Linked DNA regions of Homo sapiens: all the other regions are linked to region 6. Evidence: promoter capture Hi-C in 16 types of primary human blood cells and fetal thymus (Javierre and others, 2016). All regions are on one chromosome and are shown on one strand. The core of a region is centred on a gene start or on the middle of the fragment in contact, and the rest is flanking DNA. Distances in the headings are between cores, read along the strand shown. Region 1 holds the start of NAA20 (N-alpha-acetyltransferase 20, NatB catalytic subunit). Region 2 overlaps CFAP61 (cilia and flagella associated protein 61). Region 3 overlaps CRNKL1 (crooked neck pre-mRNA splicing factor 1). Region 4 has its middle 2.2 kb from the start of SEC23B. Region 5 has its middle 3.7 kb from the start of SMIM26. Region 6 holds the start of NAPB (NSF attachment protein beta).

Region 1 (2,700 bases), core at 161-2,660, 3.4 Mb after region 6:
TACGTGGGCACTCAGAACAATGCAGGGAACAGTGAGTTCAACACAAGTCACCGTAGCTACCAGACTGGCCCAACAGAAAATTCTTTCCACAGGATCAAGTCTAAACCCCTCCTGTTTCACCCATTTCTTCCTGACTGCTCAGTGGCAGAAACCAGCCACTAGATTCGCACTGATCCCAGTTGTCTGACCGCACTTCAAGTTTCCCCATTTTCATGCCCCGCTCCTTCTCCGGAACTTCCGTCTTCCTCACTTACCAATGTGTTATCCATCTTCAAGGCTCACCCCCTCTTTGAAATGTTCCCAGCCATCTTATCCCATAGTTCTTTCCATCTTCCTGACACTTGAATCGGAACCACTTTGTCCTTAGTTTTCACATACCGCCCTGTTGTTTTTTTAAAGTGGATCCAGGACTGATAGATGGGAAGGAAGGAGAGATACCAGCGTAGCAAAATGTTAACTGCAGAATCCAGGAAAAGTGTCTATAAAAGCACATGGTGAAATTCCTCCAACTTTTCTAAATGTGTGGGAATCTTCATAATAAAATGTTTTCTTAAAAAAAAAAAATTGGTACCTGCAAATCAGAGGTCTGGCCTTAACTCGAATCCAAAGAAACTGCATCCAGGGCTCTGGGCACAGCGAGCCTCCCCTAAGATCTGCCGTGACTCCTCACAGAGGAAAGGTGTGTACACCGGGGTGCGCAGCTACAGTAACTAAACTTGCAAACACTAACCATGACTGAGACAGCATCTGCTGCAGGGGACGCAGTGATCAGTGTCATTTCATTTGGATACAATTTAACCACGGCCACCAGGTGGGCTTCACGATGTACACATCCCAACAGCTGCTGACCAGCTTCCGATCCTCGCAAGCCCCCTCTGCGGCCTGGCCGTCGGCGGTGCCCTCTGCCCAGAAGAGGCGCGGCCCGGCCACGAACCAGCAAGCAGTAGGGCAGGGCGAGAAGCCCAGGTCGTGGGCTCCAGGCCGCGTCTCCAGCTCGCCCCATCACCCCAGCGCCTCCTGACAGCGACCACGAGCGGAGGCCCGAGCGCTGCCCCAGAACCTGCCAGCTCGCAGGGTCCAGAGACAAAGTTTGAGCACCTCGGCCAAGGTCGCCAAGGCCGGCGTGCGTCGACTCCAGGCCCACCTCTCCCTGGACCCTGTGGCCCCAGGGAGGCGCCCACGTTGGCCGGCGGGGGGTGGTTCTCGCGGGTCCCCGTCCGGGCTTGGGGTCCGGCCGGGAAGGCGCGGCTGGGGCCGGAGCTGGCGGGGCCGGGAAGCGAGGCCCGGCCAAGAGCGGCTGGCCCTAGGCGCGTGTCACTCACATGTTGTTGAAGCGGAACAGGTCGTCGCAGGTAAAGGCCCGTAGCGTGGTCATCGCGCCGCCGCCGCTTCCGAAGACCGTTCGCCAAGACCCCGCGCCCGCCCTGCCGGAAGTCTCCCGGAGCGTGGCCGCCGCGGAACCGAGCGAGACGGGGTACTGCTTCCGGGCTACGAGTTGCTGGGCAACGACAGCAGCAAAGCAGCTTCCTCTGGCGGCCGGCGGCGGGAATTGCCAGGTCGCTCCTGTAAGGCCTCCGGGGCTGTGGCTGCCCAGAACCTCGGAACCCCTCCCAGGCAGCGGCTGCAGAAAGCAGGCGGCGACACCTGGGAAGGAAAGAAGCTGCTGGTGATGCGGAAACCCAAGCAGAAGAGCGGAGTTCGCAGCCACCCGGTGCTGCAGAGTAAATGAGGAATGGGAGAATTTATGACCCAGAATCCCTTGTCCCAGTGTTGCGAGTTGCAGATGTCATCTTAAAATGTCAATACCACGTTTAAAAACAAAAAGAAGGCCGGGCGCGGTGGCTCACGCCTGTAATCCCAACACTGGGAGGCCAAGGCGGGCAGATCACTTGAGTTCAGCAGTTCGAGACCAACCTGGCCAACATGGCGAAACCCCCTCTCTACTAAAAAAAAAAAAAAAAGGAAAGAAATAAAAATTAGCTGGGCGTGGTGGCACGCGCCTCTAATCCCAGCTACTTGGAGGCTGAGGCAGGAGAATCGCTTGAACCCAGGAGGCGGAGGTTGCAGTGAGCCGAGATCTCGCCACTGCACTCCAGCCTGGGCGACAGAGCTAGACTTGGTCTCAAAAATAAATAATAAATAAATAAAAGCAAAACGAAATGTAAAATTGATTTTGATAGTACGCTTTATTTTACCCATTTATTTTTCCTATTTGGGAAAAATATTTTTCCCTGACCCCACTTTATTATACCCGAAATATCATTTCAACATGTAACCAATCAATACTCAACATGTAATCAATCAATAAAAAAAGGAATGTGATATGTTACATTCTTTTTTGCAAAGACTTTGAAATCCGGTGTGTATTTTACATTTGCAGTGCATTTCAATCTGAGAGAGCAGCTGTCATCGGAAATGCTTGTTCTCTATTTAGATTTCATCAATGTATGGTTAAAAAGCAGATTCTCATATCCAAGCGGTTCCAAATATACTGTTTTCAAATCGCTGAACCAAACATCAGTTTTTAAATTTAAAGTAGTTAAAATTAAAAGTTAAAAATTCCTTTATTCAGACCAGACACAGTGGCTCACACCTGTAATCCCAGCTACTTGGGAGGCTGAGGTGGGAGGATCATTTGAGCCCGGGAGGTAGAGGTTGCTCTGAGACATGATTGCACCACTGCACTCCAGCCTGGGTGAC
Region 2 (2,700 bases), core at 29-2,528, 3.4 Mb after region 6:
CACGAGGGATTTAGTTAAAGGATTGTGGATCTATAATGCCCTTTTATTACCTGCTTAACCTCAGCAACATTTGTGATTATGTCCTTTTCACATTACTTTGAAAGTTTTTCTTTTTTTCCTGATTAATCTTGTCAGATTTTTTTTTTCTTTAGGCTTTTTAAAGAACAAACTTTTGGCTTTGTTTATCCTCTACCAGATGCTTGTTTCCTGTTTCATTAATATGCGCTCTTGTCCTTTATTTTCTGTTTTCCTTGAGTTGATTCGACTGTTCTTGCTCTTAGAGGTAAACTCTGAACTTTATTTCAGGCCTTTCTTCTCTTCTGTTATAAGCATTTAAGGTTATAAGTTCCCTCTAAGACCTGCTATTTTGTTCAACTATTTCTGCATAACAGATTATCCCAAATTTAGTGGCTACTCTGTTTTATTTGCTCATGATTCTATGGGTGAGAGATTCAGACAGGGTACAGTAGGGGTATCTGTTGGGGCAAGAACCTCCAAGACGGTTTTTTTCCCTCATGTGTCTTGTGCCTCAGTGAGGGTGGCCCAAAGGGGCTGGGGTGTGCCTGGAAGAGTGACATGGGGCCTTCCTTCTTGCTGGAGGCTGGGCTCCTCAATTCTCCTCCATGTAGGCACACACTTCTCTCTTACGATATGGCCTCTCTGGGTGGTATGTCCAGTAGAGTAGCCAGACTTTTTACATGGTAGTGCAAGGCTCCCAAGATCACAAAACTGAAAGCTCCCAGCAAAGGCTCGAACTAGGGTGAGGCCAGAGGGACCCAGGGTTCAAAAATGGAAGGAGGTGTTCACTCTCAGGTTCATGCAGGGGCCCTAGCTGGGAGTGAGTACCCAGGATACCCTGCGTGCCTCTCCTGGGCCAGCCCTGCTGCCAGGCCATCTTAACGCTTGGGCCTGGGACCAGGACAGCCCCACTTCCATTACATTCTGTCAGGGGAATCACAGGCTCAACAAAGATAGAAAACATGGGGACTACAGCAGGGAGAATGGCACAAAAAGGCATGGGGAACACAGGGAGGCGGGAGAGTCTCCAGTGCTCTACCTGTGATTTTCACTTTTATCTATTTTAGAACTGTGTTGTTAGAAGCATATAAGTTTAAAGCTGTCATAGCTCTCCCAACAACAGTTTTATCATTATATAGTGACCCTCTTTATCTGTAGGGAGCTTTTTGTCCTGAACTATACACTGTCTGCTGTTGATATAGCAATACTAGCCCTTATTTTGGGTGAGATTTTGGGTGGCATATCTTTTTTCCTGATACTTTGACTTTAAATATTTCTGTGACTTTATATATGAGGTATGTCTCACAAATAGAATATGACTGTTTTGTTTTGAGCCAATCTGCCATTCTTAATCTTTTAATGGAAGATTTTTGTCCAGATGCATTTATTATGATTGCTGATATAGTAAAATTTATTTTCTTATTCTGTAATTTTAATACATTCTATGCTTTTTGTTTCTTTTTTCCTCCTCCTGTCTTGTCCTCTTTTAGATTCAGGGTTCATTTTAAATTTCTCATTCCATTTTTCCCTCTATAGATCAGAAGTTATCATCTCTACACCTGTTCTTTTAATGATGATCTTAACCATGTTAATATATATTCCTAACAGTCTTTATTATCTGTTCCAGTTATCAACTGATGTGTAATAAACCACCCCAAACCTCAGTGGCTTTAAGTAGCAATTATTATCTCTCATGGTTCTGTGGGCTGCCTGGGTTGAACTAAGCAGTTTTTGCACGGTATCTCAGGCTATCAAATGGCAGCAGTGGCTAAAGCCATCTGAAGACTCAGTGTCTAAGACGGCTTACTTGCATGGTTGGCAGCTGGTGGCAGTTGCTAGCGGGGAGCTCAGCAGAGGCTGTCAAATGAAGCACCCACAGGGAAACATGTGACTGGAGCTTTCATCAGTGTGGCACTGGGTTCTGAGAAGGAGCACTTCCGGAGACCCAGTGGAAGTTGCAAGACTTCTTATGACTTAGACTTGAAGTCAAATAGAGTCTCACTTCTGCTGCTTTCCATTGGCTGCATAAGGCGAGCCATGATTCTTTGTGAGAACAGACTACACAAAGGCGTAAGTGACAGGATGTGTGGCTCATTGGAGCCAGGGGAGCCTGTTTGCACACCACTTACCACACCCTCCATCTTAAATAAAACCTGAAGGATTCTTTCATTCTAATCATGCTCCTCCCAATTTATATAATGTTTTTGTCCTGAATCTTAGTTTTAACATATGGTTTATACCTCACAAATCAGTCATTATCAATATTATTGTTTTATGCAAGTCATACTTTTTCTTAGATTTACCTATATATTTTCCATATTTTTGTTGACATTCCTTCTTGTGTTTTGAGCTTTCCAGCTGAGGTATTCTCTGTTCCTCCAAAAACATATTCTGAGGAATTTCCTCCATTCAGAGTTTATTGGCAAATGACTTAGGTTTTTGTTTGTCAGAAAATGCATTTATTTTCTCCCAGGTCCCCTAGGAATTGTTTCACTGGGTGAAACAATGTCACAATTCTAAATTGATGTTATTTTTCTCTCCACTATTGAAGATATTCTACTATCTTCTGACTACTATTGTGGCTCCTAAGAAATCTATTAGTCTAATCTTTAGTTCTTTGCAGGTAACTTGGTTTTTTTTTTTTCCCCCTCTGTTATTTTTCAGATCTTTTTAACTGGAGTG
Region 3 (2,700 bases), core at 187-2,686, 3.4 Mb after region 6:
CCTCTTACTCTGAAGTTTTAGAGAAATCGAATTACCAATGGCTTTGGTTAATTTAAATTAATTTTAATTCAATTTAATTTGGATGAGGCTTTTAAGCTAGATATTTTTGTGCTTTTGTTTTCTAGTTCACATTTGCCAAAATGTGGATACTGTATGCACAGTTTGAAATACGACAGAAGAATCTGTCATTAGCCAGAAGAGCATTGGTAAGTAAAGAAAGGATCAAGATGTCTCATCAAGTTCTATGAGAAAGAAATTAAAATCTTGGTGCTTGGAAGTTGTACAGTTCCTACTTTAAAGAGTGACAGAAGTATTATACCTTTATAGCCTGGGACATGTTAGAAAACATGCGTCCTCTGTAAAAACACTGACTAATAATGCGTAAATTATTCTTATTACCTGGGGCAAATTAACATTCTGTTTCAATATTGGAAACTTCTATAGCTACCAGTTACTAAATCTTTCCACAGACTGGAATTAGTAATCTGATCCTGTGCAAACTTTTTGGTGTGTTAAATGCACTTTTAATTGTTCCACTTTTTTTTTCTTTTTTTTTTTTTTGTTTGTTTGGTTTTTTTTTGAGACAGGGTCTCGCTCTGTTCCCCAAGCTGGAATGCAGTAGCGCGATCTTGGCTCACTGCAACCTCTGCCTCCTGGGCGGAAATGATCCTCCCATGTTGGCCTCTCAGAATGCTGGGATTACAGGCATGAGCCACCATGCCTTGTCCTTTTTATTTATAGGAGGTTTTATGCATTTGACATCCCTATTCCCTAGGAGATCCTGAGAAACTTTCAAATCTTATTTTATTTAGTTGCCCAAACAATTCTGGAACACTGCCTCTTGCTGAGTGAATTAGAGGAGTTTCCTTCAGCCTTTTGTCAAGAACCAGTAAACATTGTGATACCACAGAGGGAAAGAATGGTAGGCCATGTTGACTTTGCAAGATTCTTCCTCAGCAGAGAACAGCCTCTAGGGCAGTGCAATAACTGCACAGATTAAATCCACTACAGTATCACAGTGGTCTGGTTATTTTATTTTCCAGGGAACTTCCATAGGCAAATGTCCAAAGAACAAATTATTTAAAGTTTACATAGAATTGGAGCTACAGCTTCGAGAATTTGACAGATGCCGGAAGCTTTATGAAAAGTTCCTGGAATTTGGACCTGAAAATTGTACCTCATGGATTAAATTCGCTGAATTAGAGACAATCCTTGGTGATATTGACAGAGCACGGGCAATCTATGAATTAGCCATCAGTCAGCCACGTTTAGACATGCCAGAGGTGAGCATCTCAAGTCAAATATAATTTTGTTTGAGATACGTGTTTAGTCTTACTTTAGATGACCATCTAAATGTGGGTGTATTTTAGAGTATAACGATGATCTAACTAACTTAGTCTCTTCTACTCAGATTAGGCTTGTACGTGGAAAGGTGGCTGTGGGGGACAGGGGAAGTAGCCCTCTCATTAGATACCAGAGCAGTAGACATCCAGGATGATGCCCAGGATGAACTGGGATATCATGGGGGTGGGTGACGCCCCTTCTGCAGCAGGAAAGCCTAAAGGGGCTGGGGAAGAGGCCAGGCAAGGAAGAAGCCAGCAGGCTGGCCCACCCGGAGAACGAGGGGGATGGAGGTAGGAACTGCACATCCCTGTATTCTCTAAACCAGGATGTCCTTGCAACTTCTGTTGTCACTGTCCTGAAAGTCCTCGCCTGCCTTCAGTAGTTAAGCTTGACCCACAAGGTAGCACCAAACCACAGCTAGGAAAGATTTGAATCTCACATGAGTCGTAGAACTCACCCAGCCGTTTTGTTAATCTCATGCACTAACATGACCCTGCATTTAATGGTTTGGCCCCCTGATTGCATTAATTAAGGCAGGGCTTTGGGTATCACTGAGTTCATCAGTTGTCCTCGGCTCCTCCACCAGACTGCCAGCTTTCAGGTGTCCATGCCACGGTTTATTCATCCTTATTCCCTGCCAGGCTGCACCGAGCCAGTGCGCACCTGTTCAGTGAATGCTTGTTGCACTGAACTCTCATAATAACAAGGAATGTACAGTAGAGGTAAGAACATGCATACTGGCTAACCTGGGCCTGTTTTCTCTCTGGACGCTCAATTGCGTGTGGCTAGAATATGGAGTACCTGGGAGATGCTTGGCAAGTTTCTCAGCTCTTGATAAGTCAAGCATTTGAAAAACTTCCAAAGAGAATCTCTAAGACTGAATCCAAGGCCCTTTTTCTGTAATCTGGAATTCTAGCCAAGTTTTGGCCAGCTTATAGATACCAATGTTATTTATCTTATCCACATGTGTTCTTTAGTTGTTCAGTAAAAATCCTATGTTCCTAGATGTAGGTTAGAGTGATACTTCAGCTGTGCTTTGGATGGGGGCATGCTGCTTTGTAAATGTCAAGACTGACCCATTTACTTTTCTTCCTTAGGTGCTTTGGAAATCATATATTGATTTTGAAATTGAGCAGGAAGAAACAGAAAGAACACGAAACCTTTACCGGCGGTTGCTTCAACGGACGCAGCATGTCAAGGTATCCTTGCTTTGTAGATGATCTTTCATTTTGCTTGAATCAGCAGTCCAGAAGAAAATGATATATTTCTGTATTTTAAGTGTTTGGGTTTTTGTTTTTTTTTTTTTTTTAATGACTTCCTTGCTTTTCAAGAGAAACGTGAGTCTCAGAGGACTTT
Region 4 (2,700 bases), core at 22-2,521, 4.9 Mb after region 6:
CCCCAGCGTCTATTAATGTCACCTTTGTGTCCATGTGTGCCCAATGCTTAGCTCCCACTTTCAAGTGAGAACATGTATTTGGTTTTCTGCTTCTGCGTTAATTCTTTTAGGATCATGGCCTCCAGATGCATCCATGTTGCTGCAAAAGGCGCGATAGAACACAACTGTATAAAGCCACCACAACCATTTTTACACACGCTGACAAGTGGCAAACATGAACACATCATTACTGTGACTCAGAGTTGTAGTCTCTGTAGCATATAAAAATAAGCAAAACGATGTAAACATAAAATTATGCAAGAACATATCTAGGCATCCAAGAAGTATCCATTAATTAGCTCAATTTAATACTAAGTTTTAAGTTATCTACAGATCATAGAAATTATTAATAGTTTAAGGCACAAAGAAACAATTACTGTTAAATGTGAGAATGATTCAGTTTTGTTGAACAAATTCACATTTTTCAGGATCTTAAACAATGTAATGTTAATATTAGCTTATCAATAGTAAACTTTTATAAATTTAGGAAGTTCAGATTAATTATTCTCGGTAAGGAAACAAACTCAAAATGTACACATGTATAATACTTAACACTGAGAAAAGACATAGCTGGGATTTTTTTTAACCAAAACTTAATATTATTCGCCAAAGATTTGCCTTGATTATTTGAACCTGGATTCTTTCTGTACTAGCAATTTCTGTAAGAAAGATTGTTATAGGACCATCAGGTTCGATTGTCCATTGTGCGGTAACAGAAAGAATAGGAGTTGCAGCAGATAAAGAGTTCCATAATCAAGTGGCAGCCAAATGAGGAGACAAGAGCAATCCTCAAATCCACCTCCCCAAGAGATTAGAGATGGCATTTTTAAGAAGTCTGGAGGGGCAATGGGCTAAAGTGTGGGGATTTCTGATTGGTCAGGAAGTGAGAGGTGAAGTCATGGGACAGGGAGATGAAGAAACTTCATTCCAGTGTTGTTTCTTGGTGGAGGTCTTTATTTATTTATTTAAAAAAATTTTTTTTTTGTAAAGCAGGGTCTCACTTTGTTGCCCAGGCTAGTCTCAAACTCCGGGCTTCAGGCGATCCTCTCACCTTGGCCTCCCAAAGTGCTAAGATTACAGGCGTGAGCCACTGTGCCCTTCCTGGTGGGGATCCCTAGACAGTTTGGCATCAGCTGTTTTGTGGGAATTCAGGATCTGAAAAATACCTTAAGCAATTCCTGGGTACAAAGAGCTAGTGTCAGAGATTCTGTGGATAGGAGCAATCAGGGAGTAGGTGATCAGTGTGCTGCAAGGCTTTTGGTTAGTTAGCAGCTGCAGGGAAGTGAATTGAAGGGCACCAATGCACCCTGGTCAGTGCCTAACTAACCTGCCTAAAGGCTGGCTTGTAATCTTGTTAACCCTGTCAGGATGGTTTCAGCATTTTTAAGAAATTTTGCATGCATAAGTTTAATTTACTTATTTTCTGGAATTTTAGAAATAATTGATTTACATGTGTTTGTTTCCATAAGTGAATTATAACAGAGCTCCTTTAAGACATGAAATAATATAACTTATTAAAACTTTACAAAGGTAGTAAGATTTTTTTACTCCCACAACAAGAGGGGAAGGCCTTTGTTGATTACAGCCGGGAAGACACATAGACACATAGCATATAGCTTTGGTTCTGCAACTTTGGCCACAGGTCGAAAGTAAATTCAGAAACATAAAAATTCAGTGGACTAGATAACAAAAAGCTGTTCTCCTTCCCAATGGGCATGGAAGTCTTAACTGATTTGAACTCATAAGTAGACAAAAAGGCAAACAAACAAAAAGACTAACAAACCAGATTTTTCATCATCTCTTATCCAAAAGAGAATAGATCTCTAAAAACTATTAATTCACTTAAAGAGATCACCAAATGTTCAGAATGTAAAACCTAGTTCCTAATTTTTTTTTTTTTTTCTGAATGAGGCAATGTATTAACCCAGCATGGTTTGTTCCAATGCTTCTTGTTGGCAGCTGCCACCTGTCCGGCAATTCTGCCCAGATCTCTCTGTCCCTGAGGTGTCAGTTTGCGGCCCCCATCTTGGTCCTTTTCCACCATTTTCAGCCCCTCCAGGGCTTGGAGGACCCGGCGGAGGACACTCTTGAAGCCTCGGCCGAAGTGGCTGGGCATGACGCCGTTTCTCTGACGTCCCCATAGATCTTGGTCATGGAGCCAACCCCAGCGCCACCCTGGAGGTACAGGTGCCGCGCTGTGGAACCGGCTCGTGTGTAGAACCAGTTCTCAACGTAGGGAGGAAGCTCTTTGTGCTTGGCCAGCTTGACGGTGTCCACCCATTCGGGGACTTTCAGCTTCCCGGACTTTTTGAGAAAGGCTGCCAGAGCTCTGACGAAGTCCCGCTGGTTCACGTGGTTTACAGGAACTCCAGGCATCGTGCGGCTTCCGCGCTGCCAGCCAGGGGAAAGGGAGCAACGGGGTTTCCCGCGAGTTCCTAATTGGTGTCGCCATTCATGGGGAAAAATCCGCCAGCTGTGGGCGAATCAGAAACAAAACCCAAAATCAGTAAGGAGGAGAAAGAAACCTAGGGAGAAAGTCAGCAACGCTGTAGTACTATTGCTACTTGGTATTCACTCCCGGAGCCAGGAAAAAATGTGCTTGGGCTTAGCCCCATGGGGTGTTCTTCAGTAATGTGGTTTACCTGGTTCTGTCAGGTGAAT
Region 5 (2,700 bases), core at 144-2,643, 4.9 Mb after region 6:
TCAAGAAAACAAAGCAAATGAAAAAAAGAGTGCAGTTAACTCCAGAAAGAAAAGTTATATGAGAAACAATTATAGCTCACTTACTTGGCTTATCAACAAACTATGTTTGCATAGTTAAAACAGGGTAAATATTAATTATTGATTCATCAAAAATATGCAATAGTTTTATTGGTTAGTCAGTTGGAAAGGAGGATCAAATCCTCATTAATAAATCCCATACATGATTGATAAATTAAAGATATTAGTAAAAGCTTATTATTTAGAAATGTGGACGTAAATACCAAAAAAAAAAAAAAAAAAACCTAATAGTTGAAAGCAAGGAGGGATAAAGCAGGAACTGTTTTTTTGGTTACAAACTTTTGATCATTATTTAATTTTTTAATGCATTTGTTGCTTTGTTAAAAATATAAAAATTAATTTCAAAAAAGTCATGCTGGCTAATACTGTAGAAACCAATTGGAGGGGACTCCAAGTAGAGACAAAGAGAGTAGGAAGTTGAGGCTACATAAGCAAAGAGGATGGAGGATTTAAGTAAGGTAGTGGTAAAGGGAATGGGAAGGTGGGAATGGAGTGGAATATTTGCAGTAGAAATGATGGGACCTGGTGGCTGGAGGAAGGAGAAGGAACAAGAAGAGGGAGAAGTCTAGAATGATAGGTTCCTAATTTGAGGAACTGAGTACTCTCTGAGAAAGAGAACGGAAGGAAGAGCAGCCTTGTGGGTGATGACAGCAATTTAAGTTATGGACAAAGCTGAGGTGGCTAGATATCCAAGTGGCAATGCTAGATGGACATGGATCTTGAGTTCAGGAGAACGCTGGGCTGAAATAAGAGAATAAATTAGATCTAGCAAAGAAACCCAGCCAAGTCCCAAGGAAAGCTAACCCAAATGTCCCCTTAAGCCCCACAAGTGTATGAATCCTGGGTAGACTGCCAGGTGAGAGTAGAAGTTCAGCTGTTTATCCTCGGTGTGCTCTATTAACAACTCTCACCTGCCAAGTGCCACAGCCCCTCAGCCCTTGCCCTTTGTTTCTCTGGAAGCCCTCATGTTAGGAAATGTCTTCCAAAACGTTCATGCTACTGTTCCCATTTCTCCCATACTTCTGATTCACTTGCTTCTCACCTTCCCCATCTACTGTCGTACACTGCTTCTCATTCATCAGTTTGATGCCAACCAAGATGGTCCACTGGAATACACAGCCAATTGGCACGAATCCATGCTTGACCTGATATCCCTTGGGAAGCTGAGTCTCTGCTACCAGCATCTGGAGCTGTTACTTGTGATTTTGGAATCCTTGTCACTAAGGCTGACTGCACCACAGCACTGCTCAGGCCACCCATAATGGTGGAACTGACACCAATGAGAAATCAAGATGAGGGTCTGAAGGTCATAGTACTGTAGAGGAACCCTGAAATGCCCAATTCCTGTCCTACCACACATCACATCTCTACTCACAGGGTCCCAACAGCTATGAACAGGAAAACACTACCTAAATGAGAAACAAATGCCACTTTATTCATAACTGAGGCAGTACTCTATAATCCATAGGCAGGGATCTGATAAAAACTGAACTGAGTCTCTCGCAAGGGTGGAAGCCAAAGACCAGGTTGAGGAGAGGCTGGTCAGACTTTGGCACTGCACATGGGAGGTAGTATCTTCTTGGGATATTTGTATTACTCCAGAAAGGTGAGAAAAGCAGCTGGTGTGCAATAAGAAAAGCAAGGCCAAGAGCCCAGGCAGGCTCAACAAGTGGCTGCCTGCATTCTGGTCCCAGTGTCAGGCCTTCTGAAGACAACATACTGCTTTTTTTTTTTTTTTTTGAGATGGAATCTCGCTGTCAACAGGCTGGAGTGCAGTGGTGCGATCTCAGCTCACTGCAACCTCCGCCTCCCAGATTCAAGCGATTCTCCTGCCTCAGCCTCCCAAGTAGCTGGGACTACAGGTGCGCGGTGCCATGCCCAGCTAATTTTTGTATTTTTAATAGAGACAGGGTTTCACCATGCTGGCCAAGACGGTCTCGATCTCTTGACCTTGTGATCCGCCCCTCGGCCTCCCAAAGTGCAGGGAGTACAGGCGTGAGCCACCGCTCCTGGCCCATACTCTCTGCTTTAATTCTGAGCTACCAATACACGTTTTTTATAAACACCCACTTTTGATTTAAGCTCACTTGTGTTTGTTGCCTGCAACCAAGAGACCACTGAGGAAACTGGTTCAGCATCAATCATGTCGTCCTGACTGCATTCCCAGCATTAGAATAGCACTGGCCACAGTTGGTGGGTAATCCACACTTGCTGAAGGAATGAGGGGTATGTGCACTGGTCCTAAAGAATAGGTCCAGTCTGTTTAATTCAGAAGTTACAATCAAATTTATATCATACTTACCCAGTACGCAGTAGTACCCAAAGGGCTACTGTGAATCCCAAAGTGAATATGGAGATTTGCTGAAACTAACCTTAAAGCGACCACTAAAGCTGTGCCTAATAGCAACATGAAAGAAATATAAATCTACATTAACTAGTTTCAGGAAATCAAGCTTATGGAAGCTCTATGTGAAATTTCACAGCAATCTTTCACTCATGCAAATACAGAGGAACACCTCTTGAAAATGCAGATAGTAGGCCGGGGACCGTGGCTCACACCTGTAATCCCAGCACTTTGGGAGGCTGAGGCAGGCGGATCACAAGGTCAGGAGATGGAGACCA
Region 6 (2,700 bases), core at 19-2,518:
TGATTTACTTAGGAGCTTTTGACTTAGCCTCACTCCATTAAGCCCCCATAGACTGCTCTGCTTTCCAAATGCTTATGTTCACTTTTTACAGTTTTTCTCTGGTCTCCCCTGCATTTACGGTCACCTCCAATTTCCCGCCTCCTTCTCTCTCCAAAAACACACAGCTCAGCTTTTCAAAGTTAGAATAATGCATGTAGTAATCGTAAATAAACTGCACGAAGAGCTGAGATTTCTTTCTATCTCTACGGAGTCCTGAAATGTATGAACTCTGTGACATGTGCTTTAGTCAACTTTCTTTCTAGGAGTTTGGCCCCTCTTGCCTTGCCCTCTACAGACAGTCTTCATTTTCTAAAATTTTGCATGCCAGTGCCCAGAGTGTATTTATTAACAGTTTGAAACTGTCATAAATCTCACTTGGCAGTGATTTTCTTATTAGTTTCAGCATCTCTGCCTTAGCACTGCCAAGCTTGAATGGTCTAGACATTGTCTTCAAAAATAACTCCCTCTGGGACAGGCCTGAAAGTCTCTGGCACAGGATCCCATCTATCTATGGATACTTCTCCTAGGAGATTAGAAGTCTTCCTGGCAGGCAAACATTTTGTCCCTGGAGATCCATCCACTATGGCCAGTATTATGTAAAGGATAAGAGTTCAATGGTTCACATCCATTGAATATAATTCAGTCAACAAAAGAGTGGATTATGCATATATTGCATATATGCAACTCATTTATAACCAAGGAAGAGAGGACCAACAGAAAGTTACAGTTTGGGGAGATTTAAAAATAACTGAACTTATATTGGGGACGTCTTGCTCTTGGAGATAAAAATGGCTCTTATTGCCAGCTGTTGCTCGTTTTTTGGTGGGCGGTATCAAGCATGTGATGCTTTGGTGGCTACACCAGATTCTCTTTTGCAGAACTTGCATGAAGGGTGTGGGTTCCATCCAATCTGTTATCCCCTGTTCCTTCATCCATCCCATTGCCATGCGAGTCTTACTGAGGAGGTGATCTTTACTAGAGGCCACGGATCATTTTTCCATTTCTGCATACATACAAAATTAAAGTTCACCTTGGCCCAGGACCCCTTTGGGGGGGTCACGCCCCCTGCGCCGACGTCCTGGGAGCTAGCGGTGCGCAAGCTCGGCTCACACACACCCCGCCCCGGGGCCTCCTGGGAACTGTAGTAGGCGGCTCGCGAATCCCCGCCGCCATGACAGGACCCGGACTACAGCTCCCGAAAGGCCTCGCGCGTCGCGCCTGCGCCTGCGTCCCTGCGGCCGCCAGAGGGAGGGTTAAGGCGCCTGGGCGCACAGCGAGCCGGCTGAGGGGGCTGTGGCGGCCGCGGCGGGCGACATGGACAACGCGGGGAAGGAGCGTGAGGCAGTACAGCTGATGGCGGAGGCCGAGAAGCGAGTCAAGGCCTCCCACTCCTTCCTCCGAGGGCTGTTTGGGTGAGCGCCAGACCGTGCGTGCCCTGGGGGGGGGGGGTCTCCGTACTTGGCCCCCTTCCTTTCAGGCTGACCCCCCGAGTCCCCCACGCAACCTCTGGGGCCCTCAGACCACGTCTAGGGGCCCTCAGCCTGCAGGCGCCCTCCAGAAATCCTGTAGGGTCCCCCAGCGCCCCCTGGAGCCCCCAGGACGCCCAGGGGCCCTCAGTCCGCACGCGCCCTCCAGAGACCCCACAGGCCCCCCCAGGGTCCCTGGAAACCCCGCATCCTCCCAGGGGCTCTCAGCCCCCACGCGCACTTTAGAGACCCCCTAGGGCCGGCAGAACTCCCCAGGGTTCCTCAGCCCCCACACGCTCTCCGGATCCCCTAACACGCCCCCTTAGAATCCCCAGAGTCTCACAGGGACCCTCAGCCCCCACGCGCCTTTCAGAGAACCCCTAGGACCCCCAGAGCTCCCCAAGCGCCCCACGAAGCCCCTAGAACACTCTGGGGGGGGGGCTGTCAGCCTCACGCGCCCTCTGGAGACCCCAGATCGCCCCCCTCGCCCTGGCCCGGGTTGGTGCGGGGGTCCCACGACCTAGAAGGTCAGCGGCTCCCTGAGGCCCGCGGGCGCGGTAGCTCGGGGCGCGCGTGGGGCCCCCTTCTCAGTGCGTAGCGAGTCGTATTGGTGCATTTCGCCACGCTGAAGCCCGTATCGCTCCTGAGACCGGTCCGGGTGAGGCGCGCCGGGGTGGAGCCGGAGGGGTGGGTGCGGGGGCCGCCCCCGGCGCCTGGAACGCGCACCTGGGGGCGTCCCGCCTGCAGGTGGGCCCCGCCGGGGAGGGGGCGGTCCGGCGAGGGATCCAGAGCTGGTGTGCTTGTTGGCCTCTCTCCAGGGGCCTTGCGCCGAGTACACCTTTAGTAAATACTTGACTAATGAACGAATATATTTTCTCAGCATAGTATTTTTCCTTCTCCGGAGATTGATTGATAGCCAGAGCCTCCTGTTTGATTAACGGTAACGCTGCTGCTGTTTAAGTCAGGCGTCCTTTGGGAATCCCTTTAATTTCCTGTAATTCTTCCGTGCTCTCCTAAGGAGGATTTTAAATTCCAACCTCTCAAAAAGCAGAGCCCGCACTGACAGCCCGGAAGAATTCTGGGCTGTTGAATATGTGAATGATTCAGCTGTTTAGGATGAGAAAGGCAGAAATTTTGTGTGTGCCTGTTTCGTTGTTTTCTTTTGAAAGTGAAAGATCCTTTGCTGTTACCAAGA

The links. Contacts are between HindIII fragments. The CHiCAGO score rates a contact against its expected background, and 5 or more counts as called.
Region 1: a contact is called between the fragment with the promoter of NAA20 here and the fragment with the promoter of NAPB in region 6, in 1 of 17 cell types (non-activated CD4 T cells). The highest score is 5.0, in non-activated CD4 T cells.
Region 2: a fragment that was not itself captured here is called in contact with the fragment with the promoter of NAPB in region 6 in 1 of 17 cell types (total CD4 T cells); the score reaches 6.7 in total CD4 T cells.
Region 3: a fragment that was not itself captured here is called in contact with the fragment with the promoter of NAPB in region 6 in 1 of 17 cell types (non-activated CD4 T cells); the score reaches 5.3 in non-activated CD4 T cells.
Region 4: a contact is called between a fragment that was not itself captured here and the fragment with the promoter of NAPB in region 6, in 1 of 17 cell types (naive CD4 T cells). The highest score is 6.4, in naive CD4 T cells.
Region 5: a fragment that was not itself captured here is called in contact with the fragment with the promoter of NAPB in region 6 in 1 of 17 cell types (non-activated CD4 T cells); the score reaches 10.3 in non-activated CD4 T cells.

What each region holds. Positions count from the first base shown.
Region 1 is chr20:20,016,072-20,018,771 of GRCh38, reverse strand. NAA20 (N-alpha-acetyltransferase 20, NatB catalytic subunit) reads right to left here and starts at 1,410. Exons shown (of 6, transcript NM_016100.5): 1 at 1,323-1,410. The coding sequence starts at 1,375. RefSeq lists enhancers at 1-147, 609-1,109, 1,724-1,903 and silencers at 1,164-1,283, 1,334-1,403. The HindIII fragment of the contact is 8,583 bases long and covers 1-2,700 here.
Region 2 is chr20:20,060,040-20,062,739 of GRCh38, reverse strand. The region is part of intron 2 of CFAP61 (cilia and flagella associated protein 61); the gene reads right to left. Among named protein-coding and RNA genes, the nearest start is that of CFAP61, 8.9 kb to the right of the region's middle. The HindIII fragment of the contact is 6,753 bases long and covers 1-2,700 here.
Region 3 is chr20:20,038,192-20,040,891 of GRCh38, reverse strand. It overlaps CRNKL1 (crooked neck pre-mRNA splicing factor 1), which reads left to right. Exons shown (of 14, transcript NM_001278628.2): 10 at 126-206; 11 at 1,044-1,283; 12 at 2,442-2,543. Among named protein-coding and RNA genes, the nearest start is that of CRNKL1, 13 kb to the left of the region's middle. The HindIII fragment of the contact is 595 bases long and covers 1,139-1,733 here.
Region 4 is chr20:18,504,348-18,507,047 of GRCh38, reverse strand. It overlaps the pseudogene RPS19P1. Among named protein-coding and RNA genes, the nearest start is that of SEC23B, 2.2 kb to the left of the region's middle. The HindIII fragment of the contact is 2,905 bases long and covers 1-2,700 here.
Region 5 is chr20:18,569,789-18,572,488 of GRCh38, reverse strand. No RefSeq gene overlaps it. Among named protein-coding and RNA genes, the nearest start is that of SMIM26, 3.7 kb to the right of the region's middle. The HindIII fragment of the contact is 2,280 bases long and covers 254-2,533 here.
Region 6 is chr20:23,420,056-23,422,755 of GRCh38, reverse strand. It overlaps NAPB (NSF attachment protein beta), which reads left to right and starts at 1,268. Exons shown (of 11, transcript NM_022080.3): 1 at 1,268-1,451. The coding sequence starts at 1,354. RefSeq lists an enhancer at 890-1,079 and silencers at 1,330-1,419, 2,050-2,279. The HindIII fragment of the contact is 2,788 bases long and covers 469-2,700 here.